Regions from separate parts of the Homo sapiens genome. Here regions 2, 3, 4, 5 and 6 are each linked to region 1. The links are contacts of gene promoters, found by promoter capture Hi-C in blood cells and fetal thymus (Javierre and others, 2016). All regions are on one chromosome and are shown on one strand. The core of a region is centred on a gene start or on the middle of the fragment in contact, and the rest is flanking DNA. Distances in the headings are between cores, read along the strand shown.

Region 1 (3,050 bases), core at 363-2,862:
GGCCAGGAGGCGGAGGTTGCAGCGAGCCGAGATCGCGCCACTGTACTCCAGCCTGGACGACAGAGCAAGACTCCGTCTCAAAAAAAAAAAAAAAAAAAAAAAATTGCTAACACTGAGAATTGCGGTTGCCCGGTGCTTAGGATTTACTCTGCCTAGGACAGTCCTTCTTGTTGTTGTTGTTTGTTTGTTTTTTGAGACAGGGTCTTGCTGTCACCCAGCTTGGAATGCAGTGATTTGATCACTGTCTCACTGCAGCCTCGCCCTCCTGGACTCAAGCAACCCTCCAGCCTCAGCCTCCTGCGGAGCTGGGACTATGAGCAGGTGCTACCACACCCGGCTAATTATTATTATCATTATTTTTTTTGTAGAGACGAGGGTTCTCACCATGTTGCCCAGGCTGGTCTTGAACTCCCGAGCTCAAGAGAGCCTCCCACTTTGGCCTCCCAAAGTGCTAGGATAACAGGCATGAGCCACTGTGCCCGGCCCTGGGCAGTTCTTAAGAGCGACTCTGAGTAAGGGGCTTAACTCCTGTCTCCACTCCAGGCATCCTAAACGGTCTGCAGCCGTTTTCAGTCCTTCCCCCTCAACCCCTAAGAATCCCTCACATGATTAGAACAGCACAGCATGGGCCTTCCATAGCTCCACTTGCGCGAACTGTGGGCTCCAAGATGAAAGAAGGGAAGCTGGCTACTCATCTGGGGACTTGGTGCCTGGTACTTAAGAGCGAAGCACAACTATTCGCCGAATGCGGAACACGGCACCTGAACAGGTCGCTTTCCGTGGCCCACAGCAGCGCAGCCAATCCTGGGGCGCCTCAGTCGGCGCGCGTCACAAGTTGCTGGGCAAACTTTCTTTGAGCGAGCCCCTTCCCAACCCCGAGCCTACCCTAGCCCCTTGCCCGTGGCGCCAGCCGACTTGGAGGGCGAGACCGGGCACCAAAAACGTAGTGGGGAACGTTTAACGCTGCCAGAACCCGGTGGCGGCCGTTGCCCCCTTAAGTCGGCTCAGCCTGGCGACGTTTGTCGTGGTGACGCCAGCCCCGAAAAGGTCACCCGAGGCGGACCAGCGAGGACAGGCGGAGGGGAAGGCCTGGGAGGAGCAGGCCGCGCGGACGTGTCCGGCCAATCGCTCGCCCCGCAGTATCCCCGCGTCACTCGCAGCCCGGGCGGCGCTCCCGACCGCCGCAGACACCAGTCGCCCGAGGCAGATGGGAGAAGACTAGCCACAGCTGAGGACTGCTGCCCCGAGCCACCCTTGCCCTCCCCTGCCCTTCAGTCCCCTCACCGGTCGCCGACTGCCTCCTCAGACACCGCGCGGTTCCCACTCAGCCGGCTGCCGACCCCCGCCTCCCGGACTGCGGGACTGGGGCGGGGGAGCGAGGAAGGGGCTAACGGCGCGCGCGGCCTCCGAGTGGGGGGAGCGGGGAGGCGCCCGAGCGTCCGGCCCCTCGGGATGGGGAGGTCACGCTCCTGTCCCTCTCGCCCGCGTCGGCTAGTGGTCAGTCTGGCGCGGGCAGTGTCACCGGTTGCTGGGAAGACTGGGAGGCCAGCGAGCAGCGTACCAACCACTCAGCCTCTCCGGCCCCAGCTGGAGCCGGGAAGCAGGCGGGGCTAAAAGAGAAAGCCTGCGGGGGGACTCCACTCCCGCCTCCCGCGCGGGCCAAGGCCCCGCCCTCTCTTCTGGCTTAACCAATTCCTGCCTCCCGCTTTGTCTGTTGGCCCACCCCTGGGCCTCGTCCCGCCCAATCAGAGGAAAGGGCGCCGATCCCTGCGCGCGCCTCAGCCCCCAGCCGCGGAGTCCCGGGAGCTAGGCGGTCCACCGTCTAGTCTTCCAGCAGCTCTTCCCGCGGCCGCTGGCGGGACACAGACAGGTGTACCCTTCGGTGCTTCCGGCGCGGTAGCCGGTGCCCGGCGCGGACGGGGCCGCGGCAGCCATCCCCGTAGTTAAGTTAGCGCCTTCTTATTAAGTGAGGCCAGACTGGATAGCTATTATCTCTCAACCCTCACCACAACCCTGCCAGGGGAAATATGAGCATTTATCCTGTATTTTAGGTAAGGACCCCACAAGTTAATGATACGCCCAAAGTCGCAATGCCAGGGATAGGGGTTACTCCTGGTCGGCTTGCCAGCTGCCTCTCCATGAGCTTCCTGGTTGAACTGCCTGTCCAAATGTTGACCCTAATGTCTTCTACTAGGAAATGCTACTAGTATTCCTTTCCGGAAATGCATTTTGGGAACCTGGCCATCCTTTAGTGTGCCTATATCATCAGAACAGACGCCCAGGGATGGCCCTCAAGGTCCTTTACTGCTGTAATCTTCCTTTGGAGGTCACTTAGTACCACTCTTCTGAGCTCTGCTCAGGGGGTCCCCTAATTAGTGTACTTCGACCTGCCATGCTTGGCCTGGAAAACTCTTACCCTCTTCTCTGTTTTAATTTGTAAAACCTTAGTCAAATGCCATCTCCATAAACCTATGCTAGAATGCCCCTCTCTGTCCTCAGTCCTGGGGACATATCTATGCTGCAGCGCAACCTCCCGCATGTTGATACTGTTGTTATAGTCAGATGAATACTGTTCCCCCATAGCTTAAGGGACAGGCCTTGTCCTACTCATGAACAATTGATCCCTTGAAGCATGAGCAGAGGGCCAGCACGCCACAGATGATCAATGAGTGTTTGCTGACCCGCATATGACAACACGGATTAAGGAAGACAAATCTGGTAGCAGCAGGCAAGAAAGCTGAAAAGCAAGACACAGGATGCAGGTCTGGAGTGATCAGGGCCTGAACCAGGAAGGGATAACATTGAGAGAGACATGGAAAATGCGCTTGAAGTATATATATTTTTATTGTAAAGAATCATACACAGATAAGGTAGTATTATATAGAGAATGATTAGTTGAGGATATTTCCAGAGTCTTTAAGCCAGAGAAATGTACTAATTTAGACATTTCTGGACTCATTGCTCAGTACTGATGTCATGTTTTTAAGGACACTGACACACTTGGCTAATCCCAGAGACATGAAGAGGATGGTGACTAGGGTGGTCACATA
Region 2 (3,019 bases), core at 199-2,698, 230 kb after region 1:
TAAGACATAGATGGAACTAAAAGGAGAAATAAAGGTATAAAATAAATCCTACCACATTTACTATAAAATTTTTTCTTTGTAAAAATTTTAGTTTATTTTGTTTTTAATCGACTCATAACAATTGTATATTTTTATGGGGTATGGGGTGATGTTTTGACACATATATACATTGTATAATGATCAAGTCAGAATAAAAATTTTCAAAATAGGATTTTGAAAATTGTTTTTAATTGACAATTGTATATATATTTGGGTACAGTGAGATATTTCAATACATGTACACATTGTGGAATGACCATGTCATGATAATTAACATATCCATCTCACATACTTATTTTTTGTGGGAGAAAATGATATTTTTAATATATAGATACATAGATATATTAAAATACTATAGATTAGAATCATGCTGTATATAGCTCTACATCTGCATAAATATTCTTGTGTACATATTTTCAGTGTTTACTTTTTAAAAATATTGTTTTGAATATAACTTCACAATTTACCTTAATAACAGAATCTGAGTTTTCTTATTTCCAATGTAGATTTCTTCCAATTTTTTACTAATCTAAAACAATACTATAATGAATATCTGTGTAAGGAATTCCTTTATTGTATCGGTTATTACATTTTTATTAAACAGTGTCCCTTTCATGTTCATATACTCGGGTTGTACCCGTCAGTGATCTACCCCGGCATACCACAAAAGGCCGCACTGGTGTTTTCACTGACTCACAGCAACACTGATAATCACACATTTTTTTGCCTCTCTGTTATTCAACAAATTAATGGACATTTTTGTGCTTTTTGTCATTGTCTTATTTTGTATGTACAAGTCTTCCACAAATTGTTTACTAACATGTTTGTGTCATTTTAAAAATTGCCATGTCTGTCTTATGAATATGCAAGAGAATCTTACACATTACCGATCCTCAGCCTTTGATTCGTCATGTGAACCATAAATTTCCTAATTAGAAAAAATTTGTTTTATTCAGAGATTGTTTTCAGTTTTCAAATACTAATTTTACTTTCCATGTTTTCTTCATTGCCTTTGCTCACCGTTTAGCTAAATCTTTACCCATTCATGTGTCTTGTTTTATATTTTTATTTTCCACATGTAAACCTTTAATCGATTTGATATTTTAAATTAATGTGATAACAGGACCTAGTTTCACCTAACTTTTTACTAAATTTTCATAATAATTTACTGAGTAATGCTTCCTTAGTTCAGTGAATCACAATGGAAAGTTTGAGACTTGTAGTATTTTCCCAGAATTGTGTTGCAGTCGTGCCAAGGAACCACACATTTCACTGGTTAATTTTTTACCATAACCATTGACAATCTATTGAGGAGAAATAACTTTTCTGTTTTCATCAGATTATGGCACTAGAAATTTTCAGTGACTTTGTTGAGTAACATTTAATAGCTTAATATGCAGGTTTCGATTCTAAGTAGACCATAGCTTCATTAAGGCTGACCCTGATTAGTATACATGAAATGTTTAAACTTGTAAAACAAACTTTTGAATTTCTTTTAAAATGACACTTTAGTAAACAATTCACTACCTAACTCTTCATGCCTTTGAATGTGATTTTAAAAATTCACAGCTGAAATATGAAAAATAAATGTATAGTAATATTTCTGCAACAAAAGTCACAAATAGAGTAATGTGGTGGCTTCTTTAGTGTGGGTGTGTTTTAACAGCAAATTCTACGATAAATTTATAGCACAAGATCCTTGTGGCTGAATAGAGCACAATGATAATTTAAGCATCTTCAAATACTCAAGTTCTGTAGAACTTAGTATAGTTCCCTTCAACTCCAGGGAAATGTTGTGCCTCCTAAATTTACACACGTCTAATTTTTTTTTCTTAATTTTCTAATAGTTTCACCTCGGAAGTGTAAGCAGCTTACCTGGGTGGGAAAGCAGGTCATGGCAGGGCTGGCCAGGTCATGGGCCGGCCTGCCCTGGAATCCCCTGCAGACCTTGCTTGTCTCCAGCTCTTCTCTCAGGCTCTCCCACTCTGAGTGAGTCTCCAGCTAAATACAAGGCATGATGTAGAATTAGGAAATGGAAAGAAAGGTGCAATCACTTTTTTCCACGAAGGGAAAAAGCATAAGGAACACGGAGGAAACTGGGCTTCTCAGGAGGTCCCTGGGCTCTTCTATTCTTGCAGGTAATTAGGGGGCTAGTCCCGAAAGGTTACGAAGACCAAGAGAATTGTTTAAAATGCTTCCTTTGTTTTCAGTAAATGAACTGAGCTACCATTTTAACTGTTTTCAAGTTGATTGTTTTAAATTAATCCTCTCAATATAATTAAGTAGTGGATTTGCCGATTATAAATTCTAAATGTTGCCAGGCATTGGTTTATTCACTCCACAGTCAGGTGCCTGCTTTGTGCCCATTCCTATGCTGGTCACTGGGGGCACAGTAAGGACAAAAGAGAGGCAGAAAGATTTAAGACAATATCCTTTATCAGTCTGAATTAAATTGCATGTGTTATTAGATAACTAAAGATAGGAGAGACTGAAGAATTCAAAGCAAGGTTTACAGAAAAATGATGGAGATGAGGTTCTGATGTTTAAGAGAAATGATAAAAACAGCCAAATTTGGTCTCAGACATGTAACAATGGATAGGACAGAATATACAAGACAAGGCTGTAAAACATTGCGTCGCTTGGTGTCCTATGAAAGCTATGTAGCATATATAAAGGATCCAAAAGGTTTCAAATACATTTCAAAACTCATATCTGCCTAAAACACATAGGTAGCTAGGAATGGAAATACATTTACTTAAATATTTCGTTTTAGGCAACATCATATATCAAAAGTAAAAAGAAAGCTAAAGCAAAATAGAAAACATACAACATAATATCTACCAAAATTATGAAAAGTTGGTTCCCTTGAAATAAAGTTGAAATGAAATCTGATATTTCTTTGTAATAGAATTCAAATGCTACATGAGGGTCAAAGGAATCGGTATAAAGCAAAAACAGAAATCAATACTGAGGTGACAGA
Region 3 (2,876 bases), core at 67-2,566, 130 kb after region 1:
ACTTTTGAGAGAGATTATAGGAATCTTTTTATATGGAACTCTGAACATTATGGATGATGTCCTACTAGATTTTTTTTTTTTTTAAAGACAGGGTCTCATTCTGTTGCTTAGGCTGGGGTGCAGTGGTACAATCATAGCTTACTGTAAACTCAAATTCCTGGGCTCAAACGATCCTCCTGTTTCAGTCTCCCAAGTAGCTAGGATTTCAGGCACACGCCATGATGCCTGACTAATTTTTTATTTTTATGTTTTTGGTAGAGACAGGGTGTCTATGTTGCCCAGGCTGGTCTCAAACTCCTGGCCTCAAGTGATCCTCCTGCCTCGGCTTCCCAAAGCATTGGGATAACAGGTGTGAGCCACACTGCGCTTGGCCCTACAAGAAATTTGACAAAAATGCAGAACCAATCTTCTGTTGCCTCCTGCAGAAAAGAGTACGAAATATAATGTAGACCATTGCTCCAGGTAACTGAACATAATGCAGCGTGCTTGAGGGGCTTAAAGATGAAGGGAGGAACGATTTTCCCTGTCGTAATCTCAGGTAGAGGCTGTTCTTCGCTTTCCACAGACAGAGGCTGATGACCGCAGCTAATTTCTGGCTCCTCATTGCTCTGGCTCTTGGATCCTGAGACAGAGCAGGGACCCCTCTTAGGGGTCTCTGGGTCCCCCAGGCATGGACATAAAAGAAATTCTTGAGTACCTTCAAGGAAAATTCCAGGCACCTAGCTAGCTTAGAAAAGTAAATGAACAATTTGATAAGCAAGAAGGTAATAGTAGTTTAAAACAATAGCCAAAGAAACTAGAGCCAGAAGATGTTTGGCTCCCCATAGAAATTAAAGATAATATCTTAACATATGTTCCTGAGCTAGTTTTCAGAAACCTGGAGCCCCACAAAATGGAACTGCAGACACACAGACCTCAGATAAGGGAGAACTAAGGACTGAACTGTGATTGCCATTAGAAATTTCTTTCTGAGGGGCCTGGAGAAGGTCATACCCATGAGCCAGCACTAATATTCTTTTTTGTTTGATTTTTAAACAAAACTCTTTAACCATTGCAAATCAGAAAATCTTAGAATCTACCCCGACCTGTAAGCCCCACTTCAAGATATCCCACCCGTTTAGGTCAAAACCAATGTGTAACCTCCAGGATTGATTTACAACTTTGCCTGTAGCTTTCCTGAAATTTACCCCTGCTTTTTTTTTTCTTTTTTTTTTAATGGTGTTTCGCTCTTGTTGCCCAGGGTGGAGTGCAATGATATGACCCCGGCTCACCGCAACGTCCGCCTCAATGGTGCGATCTCTGCTCACTGCAACCTCCACCTCCCAGGTTCAAGTGATTTCCTGCCTCAGCCTCCTCCTGAGTAGCTGGGATTGCAGGCGCCGCCACCACAGCTGGCTCTGCCACCACACCCAGCTGATTTTGTATTTTTAGTAAGGATGGGGTATCTCCATGGTGGTCAGGCTGGTCTTGAACTCCCGGCCTCAGCTGATCTGCCCACCTTGGCCTCCCAAAGTGCTGGGATTACAGGCGTGAGCCACCGCGCTGGCCTACCCCGCTTTTAAAAACCATTACCTGCAAGCCACCTCAGAGGTCAGGATTTAAGCATTAGCTTCCTGGTCCTCCTTGCTTGGTGCTCTGCAAATAACTGCCTTCCTTTTTACTGCTGCAAACCTCAGTGTATATATCTGGTCTTACCAGCTGGGTGGGCAGACCCCAGTTCGGGTCAATGACGATCCTTCTCAGAGGTCAGGTCTCTAAGACAAAAGCATGGTGCTCTCCCAACCCCAGGCCTGCCCCCTTTCAAATCTGTGTAGATGACCCATCCAACACTCAGCCCCAAAGGTCCTTTGGTATCTGTGCCTCTTGCCTCCACTCCAGCAAATCCATGTCCAACTTTGACATGGGAACTGTGAAAGGAAAATAAATCTCAGGACTCCGGGCTCACTAAGCAAAAGCGAAAAGTCAAGCTGGGAACTGCATCAGGGAAATTTGTTTCCCATTTTATTCCTAAATAAGATAACCTCAAAGATTAAAAAAAAAAAAGAAAAGAAAAGCTACATACCTCCTTCACAATTTGTACATTAGGAAATTCCTTTACCCTAAAATAGTTCTGCTGAATTTTAGCCTGAAAATGTAAATTGATAGTGTATCTTCACAGGTATGGGACAAAGGGCAGAATTCAAAGTCATTCTTCTGCCCACCTGAGACAAATGCATATCAGATTTCTTCCTCTGTGTTGGGAAAAGCTGAGTGTTGGGAGAAGCTGAGGTGGGGCTTGCATATCTGACATAACGTAAAAGAGCTCTGGAACATGTCCAGGGTTCAGGGTCTAAATCCCCTTGTGGTCTTTGGAACACCAAGCTCTGTGCTAATGGGTGGAAGGCTACCCTGATGCACCATAATCTAAGCCCAGGGCATAAAATCCCTCATGGCTTGGACAGAATCCAGGGCTCGCAGCTCTGGAATGTGTCTAGACTTGCTGGCTCCTTGCTCCTTGCTCCTTGCCCTCCCAGGATCAACAGTACCTTGAGTTAAAAGAACCTGCTCTCCATTTTCTCAAGTAGCAGAGCAGATGCTAAACCATCACAGCTGTAAATCATGTGCTTAATGCAACACGCCCTTTCAGCCTCCACATTCTTACCACCTGTTTCTTTGCTGGATTACCAATAAATAGCACTGGGCTCCCAGAGCTCCGGGCCTTCACAGCCTCCACAATTGTGATGGTCCCGTGGTCCCACTTTACTTCTCCAACTGTCTTTTTCTCAGTCCTTTGACTCTGCCAGACTTTCTCACTCCCGTGACCTGGTGTTGGGTCTGATCACCCCAACATTCTGCCTTATGTTTATATTATATAAAAATGCAGATTAATTGAGCCA
Region 4 (2,931 bases), core at 121-2,620, 170 kb after region 1:
CAGAGCCTCAGGCAGACCAGTGGGGACCCTCCTGCCAGCACGGACTCCCTGCACAGCCTCAGGCGGACCAGTGGGGACCCTCCTGCCAGCGCAGACTCCCTGCAGAACCTAAGGTGGACCAGTGGGGACCCTTCTGCCAGCGGGGACTCCCTGCAGAGCCTCAGGTGGACCAGTGGGGACACTTCTGCCAGTGTGGATTCCCTGCAGAGCATGAGGTGGCACAGGACATTACATGATGAGGGAGCTGAGCAGTCTGATGTGCTAGCCAAGATCTCTCTTCTTCTTATAAAGTTAATCTCACTTCTATGATAATCCATTAATCCATGAATTAATTAATTCATTTATGAGAGCAGAGGCCTCACAACCAAATCACCTCTTAAAGGCCCCACATCTGAATACTGCTACATAAAAAATTAATTTTTTTAGAGTGTCATTTTGGTTTTAATCCACAAATTATTTTTCAAAATTTCTGTGGGTATATGTTAGGTGTATATATTTGTGGAATACATGAGATGTTTTGATACAGGCATGCAGTGTGAAATAAGCCCATCATGGAGGATGCGGCATTTATCTTCTTAAGCATTTATCCTTTGCATTACAAACAATCCAATTACATAGGTTCAGAAGTACTTGTGTAGGTGTCATATAGGTAAATTGCATGTCACAAGGGATTGGTGTACAGATTATTTCATCTTCCAAGTAATAAGCATAGTACCCTATAGGTAGTTTTTCTATTTGTGTATTTTTAATATTAAATCCCAATCTCTAGAAACACTAATACAAATAATTCTTTTTAAGTTATCGACAACTTAGTCACATACAAAATTGTTTCACAATGAGCAGGTCTATACAAACCTATCCAAAGTTGGAGGAAGCTGAGATGCTGAAGATAGAGGCTGATAAATACAGTTTCTTAGGCAGAAACAATTAATAGGGACTTATGAACAGAAGCCATGTGTGTGTCTCAGGCAGCAGTGAGATGAGATGGCAAATTCCTGTGCCATTAACCCCAAAACCCAGGACTTATATGCCATAGGGAAGGAATGATTCAGAAGGCATGTGTAGGACAATTGAAGTATGATAACATAAAAGTTGTTTGACCTAAGGGCAGGATTTATAATAAGTACCTGTTCTTACACGAGGAGCAATAAATAAACTGGAAATCTTAAAGGCCTTCCCCCCTGGAGTTAATCAGAAGCCAATAGGGCAGATCACCATTCAAGATGGAGTTACTTGAGCCTCCCATCTAAGAAAGAGTAGCTTTAGTCTCCAAAAACTTTTCTTTCATAAATTCTCTTTATAAACCTTATCATATCTTACACAGACTATTTATGACATACTTGGACTTTCTGTTTTGTCCAAAATTTCCCTCTTAAATAATGAGTTGTTTTATTTTAGAACTACATTTACTATACAAGTCTCTTTCTCATACAAAATTATACTTTTTACCCATTTTTAAAAATAAATACATCTTTGGATTTGTATAATAGCCTTTGAATTTGACAAAGATTATTTTCCTTTTAATAAGAACATATTTTTATGTCTTTATTATAATTTCTTTTCCATAAAAATATTTACTTTGGTACTCTCTAAATACAGAATTATATATTAACTAGAATTTTTATTCTTAGAACCTTAAATTTTTGTGAAAACCTAGGAAGTAGTAAATCTTGAATTGTCTGTCATATATCAGTATTTTATAGATGAGAACCATTTTATATTATTTTAGAAATATGTTTTTCTGTTTTTTAAATTAGAAATGATCCAGACACTTAATGAGTATTATTTACTTTAACTTTAAGATTTTAAATTATATGACAAGTTCATTTATAAGCATTTATGCCATTAAAGCTACCTAATTTATTTTTTAAAACAGTTTTCCTAGGTTACTTACAAAAACTGACATATTAGACAAAGCTAGTCATCATTAAAGTTATTTTTCAGCTAACCATTCTTATAGGCTGTGAATATTTCAGGTGTTTACCTACATAAGAACCAAATGTTAAATATATGTTTATTTGATTTTTTTTTGGCCAACCACTAAGGTTTTACCTATTTTCAATAAATCAACAGTATTAAATGTCTTATTTATAAAAAATTACACAATGATCATTAAGGGATGGGTTTTAAAGTTTTATAACCTTCATGACAAAGTTTGGTACCTTATAATACAAACACCGCTAAATATAAAACTATTTCACCAATAAATCCAGACAAAAATGTATGCTGACAATTCTGAAGGCATTTCAAATTTTATTTTACTAATAATTATAAAGCCAGCTTATTTATTGAAGATTTACTTGTCATGTGAACTTGAAGAGCATTTGGACTTTATGAGTAATCCTTTATTTTTAAGCCCATTTGATACCTTGCAGTTACAACATATAAGAAAATACATGTACATGTAACATAAACACAACTCAACATAGATACACAGATACAAAGATCCCATAGGTTTTATTTCAGAACTCTAGTCACAAGACAGCAATACAGATTCACCAGCTTGCAAAAGATGGTTTAATTTAAACAATGGGTTTTATCTCAAAACCAGTAGAAAAGCAACAGTACATTTAAAACAGAAAAATAAAATAGAGAAATTGAGAATTTAGGAGATGCTATATTTAATTCTATAGTTGCAGGTCAACTTTGAGCTCTGAATTTACCCATCAGTTTAAAAATGTGCCAGAACAGACTATAATACATAACCAGCCAGAGTACTAGAAAACCAAGCATGCTCTCAAACCTTCACATTTACACAAACATTTGCAAGTAGAGTGCCATAAAACCCCCAGGGGTGCCCCAAAGGAGGTCATCTCCTTGTCTTTTCTCAATCTTTGAGAATTTGCTTTGCAAGTTTTTTTTTTTGTTTGTTTGTTTTTTAGTGGAGGAGCCAGACTGTAGCGTGGGTTTCAGTGCAGTGGGGCTCAGAAG
Region 5 (2,932 bases), core at 168-2,667, 210 kb after region 1:
ATGGTGAGAGTACAGTTAACAAAATAGGCACAAATCCTTATTCACATGAAGCTTACTTTCTAGCTTGAAGAGACACAAAACACAAGGTAGTGTCAGACGGTGTTAAGAAAAGTGAAGAAAAATAGTCATAGGACCTCTGAGCAGGTGGCTTTTGAGCAAAGCCCTGAAGTACATGAGGGGATGGATGGCCTTGCACGGTTGGAGGAGGAGCCCCAGGCAAGGGGAGCAGCAGAGGCAATGGCCTGGGCTCAGGGCTCTTGCAAAGTGGGGACAGAGGACAAGGAAGCCACCGTCGCTGCAGCCCAGGGACAGACAGACTGGAGTCGGCGGGAGATCATTTCAGAAGACAAAATGTTCAGAACGTGATGGGCCTTAATGTATGATGTAAAGCACAACTGCAGGGTTTCAAGCAGAAAGTGGCGTGGCGGGATGCACGGGTCCCGATGTGACTTTGATGGTTGTGCTGAGACTAGACTTGGAGGGATTCATGAGACAGCAGGGAGATCGTGGGAAAGTTCGTGGAACAACCAGGGTAAAATGTGTCATGATGGATTAAGCCAGGCACCTACTAGCTATGGACATGAGAAATATTATAGGTTTTTAATTGTTAATAAATAAGTTTTACTTATTCATTTCTTTTTTAGAAACAGGGTCTTGCTCTGTCACCCAGGCTGGAGTGCAGTGGCACAATCATAGCTCTCTGTAACCTCAAACTCCTAGCCTCAAGCAATTCTCCCAACTCGACCTCCTGAGTAGCTGGGACGACTGACGTGCACCACCACGCCTGGCTAGTTTTTTATAAAGACGAGCTCTGTTACCCAGGCTCATCTCAAACTCCTGGCTTCAAGTGATCCTTCCGCCCTGGCCTCCCTAAGTGCTGGGGTTACAGGCATGAACCACCACACCTGGCCTGTTTTTACTGTTTTATACATTTTGGATAAAATGTTTGAATTTGTTTAATATGACAAAGAGATGTGCTCTCTTCTCCTTAGTGTGGGTTAATTCTATTAGGAAGTTTTTGGAGTCTAATATAGAATGTTTCTTTTATATTTTTGGACTTTGAATTAGCAGAATATATTTTTAGGCAATATTTGTGTTCACTATCCTTGGGAAATGGAATAGAATTGAAACGATCAGGAGTGGATCAGGAGGCTAAGACTCACTGAAGTAGAGTTTTGACCACGGAGTATTTCTGGGAGGCCTGACAGAGGAGGCCACAGTCCTTAGCCCCTTTCACAGTAATATGAATATATCAATCAGAGGGAAATTGGGAGTAAGCCAATTTAATTTTGATGTTAGTAAATAACTTTTTTGTTTAGACTCTATTTGTACTGATTCTACTGGTCACTTTTCAAGGTCATAACAATTCTGGTACCTTTGTGAAACCAGATATGACTTCAGCATGGTAAAGGACAACCAGCTAAATTTGAATTTCAGATGTACAGTGAACCCTTTTTTTTGGTGTTAAGAACATTATGAACTTGCACTAAAACATTTTTTGATTATCTGAAAGTCAAACATAGCTGAGAATCCTGTATCTTTGCTAAATCTGGCAACACTAGATAGTGGAGCCAAGGTGTGTCTAGCAACATGTGAATGGGGGGAAACCCTGCAGCATCCGGGCTCCCCCGTTGATCGGACTTTCATTTTTACACAAATGTTTGAGACTCAAGCCACTGAGGCCTACCATGCCGGGGAGGAGGTGCTGGCGGGGAGAGGGGGGCGATTCTTACTACATGTATGGTTCTTTCTCTTGTCTAACAGTTAAATCTATCTTCCACCTGGTATGTTAAAGATAAAATTCCTTCTTAAACGGTGGCCTGTTGCTGTCACATTTCCATGTATCTGCTCCGTAGCTTTCTAAGCCTGAGTTTGGCTCTGGCCTCAGTTCTGGTAAGTGCTGGCAGACGTGTAGCTTGGTGAACCCTGCTCCTGTGTGTCTGCTGCTGACATAGCTTCAACCTACCAACATTTTCCTTTAATTTCCCTGCCCATTTCCCAAACCTACAGTAGCAATGGAGAGCAATGCAGGGAGTCAGCTTAGTGTCATAAACTGCTTTTTAAAAACTTAATTCTGGGAGCTTTTTGCAAATAGTTTTTTTTACCTTCTAATTTATCTGAAGAAAGATCTGCAAAAAGGTTAGCAAAACAGCACAAAGAACAGTGAGGAGTCCCAACTTTAGACATAAACAGTGGAATAATAGGCATCGAAGGCTTGGAAGAGTAGGGGGTGAAAGCGGAGCGAGGGGTGAGAAATTAGTAATGTGAGCACAACCTACGCTATTTGACTTACGGTTACCCTAAAAGACAAGACTCCACTATGCGATACATCCATGTCATGACACTGCACTTGTCGTCCTTAAACTTATACAAATAATTAAAAAGAAATAGAACAGAAACATGGGGCTTCGTGAATAAAACGTTCCCTAATAGTTATCCTAACCCTTCATTTCTTCAGTGATTTACTTCACTCCCCTTTATCCATTTGGTCAATGAATCACCCTTTTTTCCAACTAGTATTTACTTAACCCTACTATGGGCTGGATAACTTTCTGGATACAAGAAATGCAGCATGGACAGAACAGATATGGTTAAAACCCCATTCTTGGTGTAGCATACAGCAATTGTATCACGCAGTTACCATAACCTCCAGCAGCATGATGAACCATAGACGCAATATAGAAGGAGCTGTTCTCTGACAGGGAAATGCAGCCATGGTTTTTGCTTCATGATGTGCATGTTGGTCTGCCTGTTCTTCTCTAGCCTCTAGCCTGGAAGCTTCATCCTGACGGTACCCTCAGAAGTGTCACCTCTACTGCAGACCTTTCCCATCTTGACCGTGTTCTCTTGCCTCCTTCCTGGTCCTTGTGTCTTCCCGTTGCCCTGGGACGCTCGTGGGCCATATCAATGACGAACACATCATCCTCTGACT
Region 6 (2,988 bases), core at 184-2,683, 150 kb after region 1:
CATGGACCCAGAACATGTGTTTTTCTAGAAAAATGAGTGAACCTGACCAAAGGTAATTTTAAGTTACAAAGGCCACAGTGGGGAGACTTTTTACAAAGGACAAAGAGGTGCATGCCTTTATAATACGCCAGCTATGGGGACTGAGAAGACCTCCTTGTAGCTATTTTGAACCCCAGAGGAGTTGCCTCAAAAGTAAAGGACCGCGTGTCCCAAGAAGTTTACCTGTATTTTAAATAGTCAGGCCTTTGCATAAGAAATTTTTCATTTCTATACCAGTCATCTGATGGACCTGGCCTGTCTACCTACTAGAGAAAGCCCCCAAGGGCTACACTCCCTGGGCAATAATCAACCAATCCCCCAGAGAAAAAAAATGGAAGTTTCAAATCAAATGTGGAAGTCCCCATACCTGAAGCTATCTGACTGACAGTTGAATCATATTTAGAAAAACATTTGTAAGAATGAGTCTTTTCTGTTTTCTCTCTTTAATCCTGCTTCTCCCATGGGAACCCTGCAGTCAACTGAAACACCTCTTATGAAACTTCCCGCTAAACACATACTCTGCCAATTCTTTCTTGTTGTCATGATCTTTGCTATGCCCCAAACTCTTTCTGGTGGGTGGGGGGAAATATTATTCAGTCTTGCAATCTTGAAAACAAAACAGGAGAGAAAAGTTGTACCAGTCTGTGATTATAGAGCAAGATTAGAAGTAACCATGGTGAGTCAGGCACACAAAATATTTGTTCTAGTCTTCAGTGGGTTCCACCCACTTAGTATTTTAGTTAAAAGACAGAAGGTGGGTTGGAAAACCACTGATTTAGCAGAATAAATCTCCAAAATACAACTTTTTGGCAGAAAAACTATTTTCACCTGCTTATTTTGAGGACTCTTTGTAAGAGAAATTTACATCCCTAAAGGGAATCTCCATTTGTAAGAAGGTCTACCTCTCTGGACAGAGAACACTGGAAACTCTGATAAGGAAGAAAGCGTTGGCTTAAATCTACAGAAGCCTTGCCTTTAAAGTGCTTTTCCTAGCTGTCTTGCCCTAACTGGGTCTTTACATCTTTCTTTCTTGGTTTGGGCAAATTAAAGCATTTAAGCTGGAAGTCCAAGCTCTGTGCTTTTGAGATATAAATTTTCTACACAGTCTTCTCTAGAGTTTAATAGGTATCTATTTAAAATGCAAGTTTAGGGTAGATAACTCATCAGAAGTAGAAGTAAGAAAAATAGATATTTGGAAACTGAGCAAATAAAAAAACATTAATGATCTTTTTCACAAATATTAGTAAGAAGCTTTAGCCATTTAAGTGGCATTAGCCAAAAACAATTTAGATCCAGATATTCTTTAATAAATTAGTGAGATTTGTATTATTGTACCTGGCACATGGCTAAAAATTTGTAATGTTTCTGTTACATGTCTATCTATATCTGGATGTATGTACATATGTGCAATATTTTTCTACTGCCTTATAGTATTGCCAAAATTAAATAACACCATGTTCAAACAAGACGGATGTCTAGCTGTAGGCAAGCAGGTGATTTTTCTACTTTGCTCCTATGTCTGGCCCATAAAAGCTTGTTCACACTGCTGGGCAGAGCTCTCTGAATTTCTTCTGATCTGTAGTGCGATCTGATAATGAATCATTCTTTGATCAAATAAAGTCTGCTAAGTTTAATTTGTCTTAAGTTTTTATATTAAGACTCACTTTCCTCATTTGAAAAATGAAATGATAAAATATATATCTCCTAAATTTCTGCCAGATTTTTCTATTCACTTCTAATTTTCAAATGATCGTATTTAGTGAGATCTACCCATCCTCTTGGTCTGTGACTGGTTGTGGAACAAATAGATTTGGAGGAAGATGAGAAGCATGATGATTGTCTCCATTAAGCCAATAATTTTCTGAGAGTCTATGTGCAATACAGAAACAGGCTGCTGTAACTGCAAAGTAAACTGAGTATACGCACTTAACTGCTCTCATGTGGCATACTGACTAGGCATAGTGATGAAGTAAAACAATTTATTATTTTCTGAGTACTTAAATGTCTGGGTTTTGTACTTTATCGAAGATTATTTTATGAAATGTGAAAATATAAATCCTTTACTTTTTTCACTGTTTACTCTCCTCACTCTCTTAATGAAAATCTCTATATCTCATGCTCATCACTTCCTCACGGACTCTGAGTTCAGTTGGCACCTACTCCATATTCTGCTTTCTGTTTCAGCAGGTAATTTACAATTTAACCCAGAGGAGGCAGCATCCTCCTGAGACCAGCGTCCCCCAGGCTTCCTTCTGGAAGCCAATCTCCTCCAGACTGTGGCGGCCCAGTCTCTATGGGAAACTAACAGAGAAGATTGTCTCCTTGATATATTATACATCAGGTTTTCTCTATCACTGAGTTTGCATGTTAAATTGGGTCACTTCTTCTGGTGAGACACAGAGGAAAACTTCAGAACTGTTTCTTTATCATCATTGGTCCAGACAGTGAATACATATTGAGAAGCTACATGTTATTTAATCAAGGTATTGCTGGTCTTGTATTTCTCAGATATTTACCCAATAAGGAAATTGAATTTGTCTACATGAGATTTATGTAAGCAATCATTTCAAATTTTTTATGAGAAAAAAATCAAGACATGTTTGCTTAAAGTGATTTAATTGTTCTCTTAGTAATTATGTTTCATATTTTTTTCCAATGAAACAAGCAAACAAAATAGTGCATTCAGTTTGCTTGAATTTTTATCATTTTAATCAGTTTTGGAGAGATCTATTTTTAGTTTGAGACTAGAGTGGAAGCAGCTCATGGTGCAGTGTGTATTGGTTTTGTTCCTCAGTGTTGCTCTTTTGCTTGATATAAGTGGGATAAAGGGCAGCTCTTCAGCATCAGGCCACTCAGAGAAAACTACACTGAAGTAAAAAGGCTTCATATAGATTAGATACAAATGCTCTCAGAGGTGGGGCAGCAGAGGCCATCTTGTTGAGTGTAGTT

The links. Contacts are between HindIII fragments. The CHiCAGO score rates a contact against its expected background, and 5 or more counts as called.
Region 2: a fragment that was not itself captured here is called in contact with the fragment with the promoter of ZNF672 in region 1 in 1 of 17 cell types (naive B cells); the score reaches 5.6 in naive B cells.
Region 3: a fragment that was not itself captured here is called in contact with the fragment with the promoter of ZNF672 in region 1 in 5 of 17 cell types (neutrophils, monocytes, M0 macrophages and 2 more); the score reaches 9.2 in neutrophils.
Region 4: a fragment that was not itself captured here is called in contact with the fragment with the promoter of ZNF672 in region 1 in 1 of 17 cell types (total B cells); the score reaches 5.9 in total B cells.
Region 5: a contact is called between a fragment that was not itself captured here and the fragment with the promoter of ZNF672 in region 1, in 2 of 17 cell types (naive B cells and M0 macrophages). The highest score is 6.3, in naive B cells.
Region 6: a contact is called between a fragment that was not itself captured here and the fragment with the promoter of ZNF672 in region 1, in 1 of 17 cell types (naive B cells). The highest score is 6.1, in naive B cells.

Annotation. Positions count from the first base shown.
Region 1 is chr1:248,836,786-248,839,835 of GRCh38, reverse strand. ZNF672 (zinc finger protein 672) reads right to left here and starts at 1,612. Exons shown (of 4, transcript NM_024836.3): 1 at 1,285-1,612. RefSeq lists enhancers at 290-369, 710-979, 677-1,176, 1,177-1,678 and a silencer at 1,270-1,669. The HindIII fragment of the contact is 11,934 bases long and covers 1-3,050 here.
Region 2 is chr1:248,608,762-248,611,780 of GRCh38, reverse strand. No RefSeq gene overlaps it. Among named protein-coding and RNA genes, the nearest start is that of OR2T10, 13 kb to the right of the region's middle. The HindIII fragment of the contact is 6,444 bases long and covers 1-3,019 here.
Region 3 is chr1:248,704,321-248,707,196 of GRCh38, reverse strand. No RefSeq gene overlaps it. Among named protein-coding and RNA genes, the nearest start is that of OR14I1, 3.0 kb to the right of the region's middle. The HindIII fragment of the contact is 9,630 bases long and covers 1-2,876 here.
Region 4 is chr1:248,668,576-248,671,506 of GRCh38, reverse strand. No RefSeq gene overlaps it. Among named protein-coding and RNA genes, the nearest start is that of OR2T27, 15 kb to the right of the region's middle. The HindIII fragment of the contact is 4,700 bases long and covers 1-2,931 here.
Region 5 is chr1:248,627,104-248,630,035 of GRCh38, reverse strand. OR2T11 (olfactory receptor family 2 subfamily T member 11) reads left to right here. Exons shown (of 2, transcript NM_001001964.2): 2 at 2,764-2,932. The coding sequence starts at 2,908. Among named protein-coding and RNA genes, the nearest start is that of OR2T11, 6.5 kb to the left of the region's middle. The HindIII fragment of the contact is 2,727 bases long and covers 54-2,780 here.
Region 6 is chr1:248,686,300-248,689,287 of GRCh38, reverse strand. The region is part of intron 3 of OR14I1 (olfactory receptor family 14 subfamily I member 1); the gene reads left to right. Among named protein-coding and RNA genes, the nearest start is that of OR14I1, 15 kb to the left of the region's middle. RefSeq lists enhancers at 633-682, 2,301-2,500. The HindIII fragment of the contact is 282 bases long and covers 1,293-1,574 here.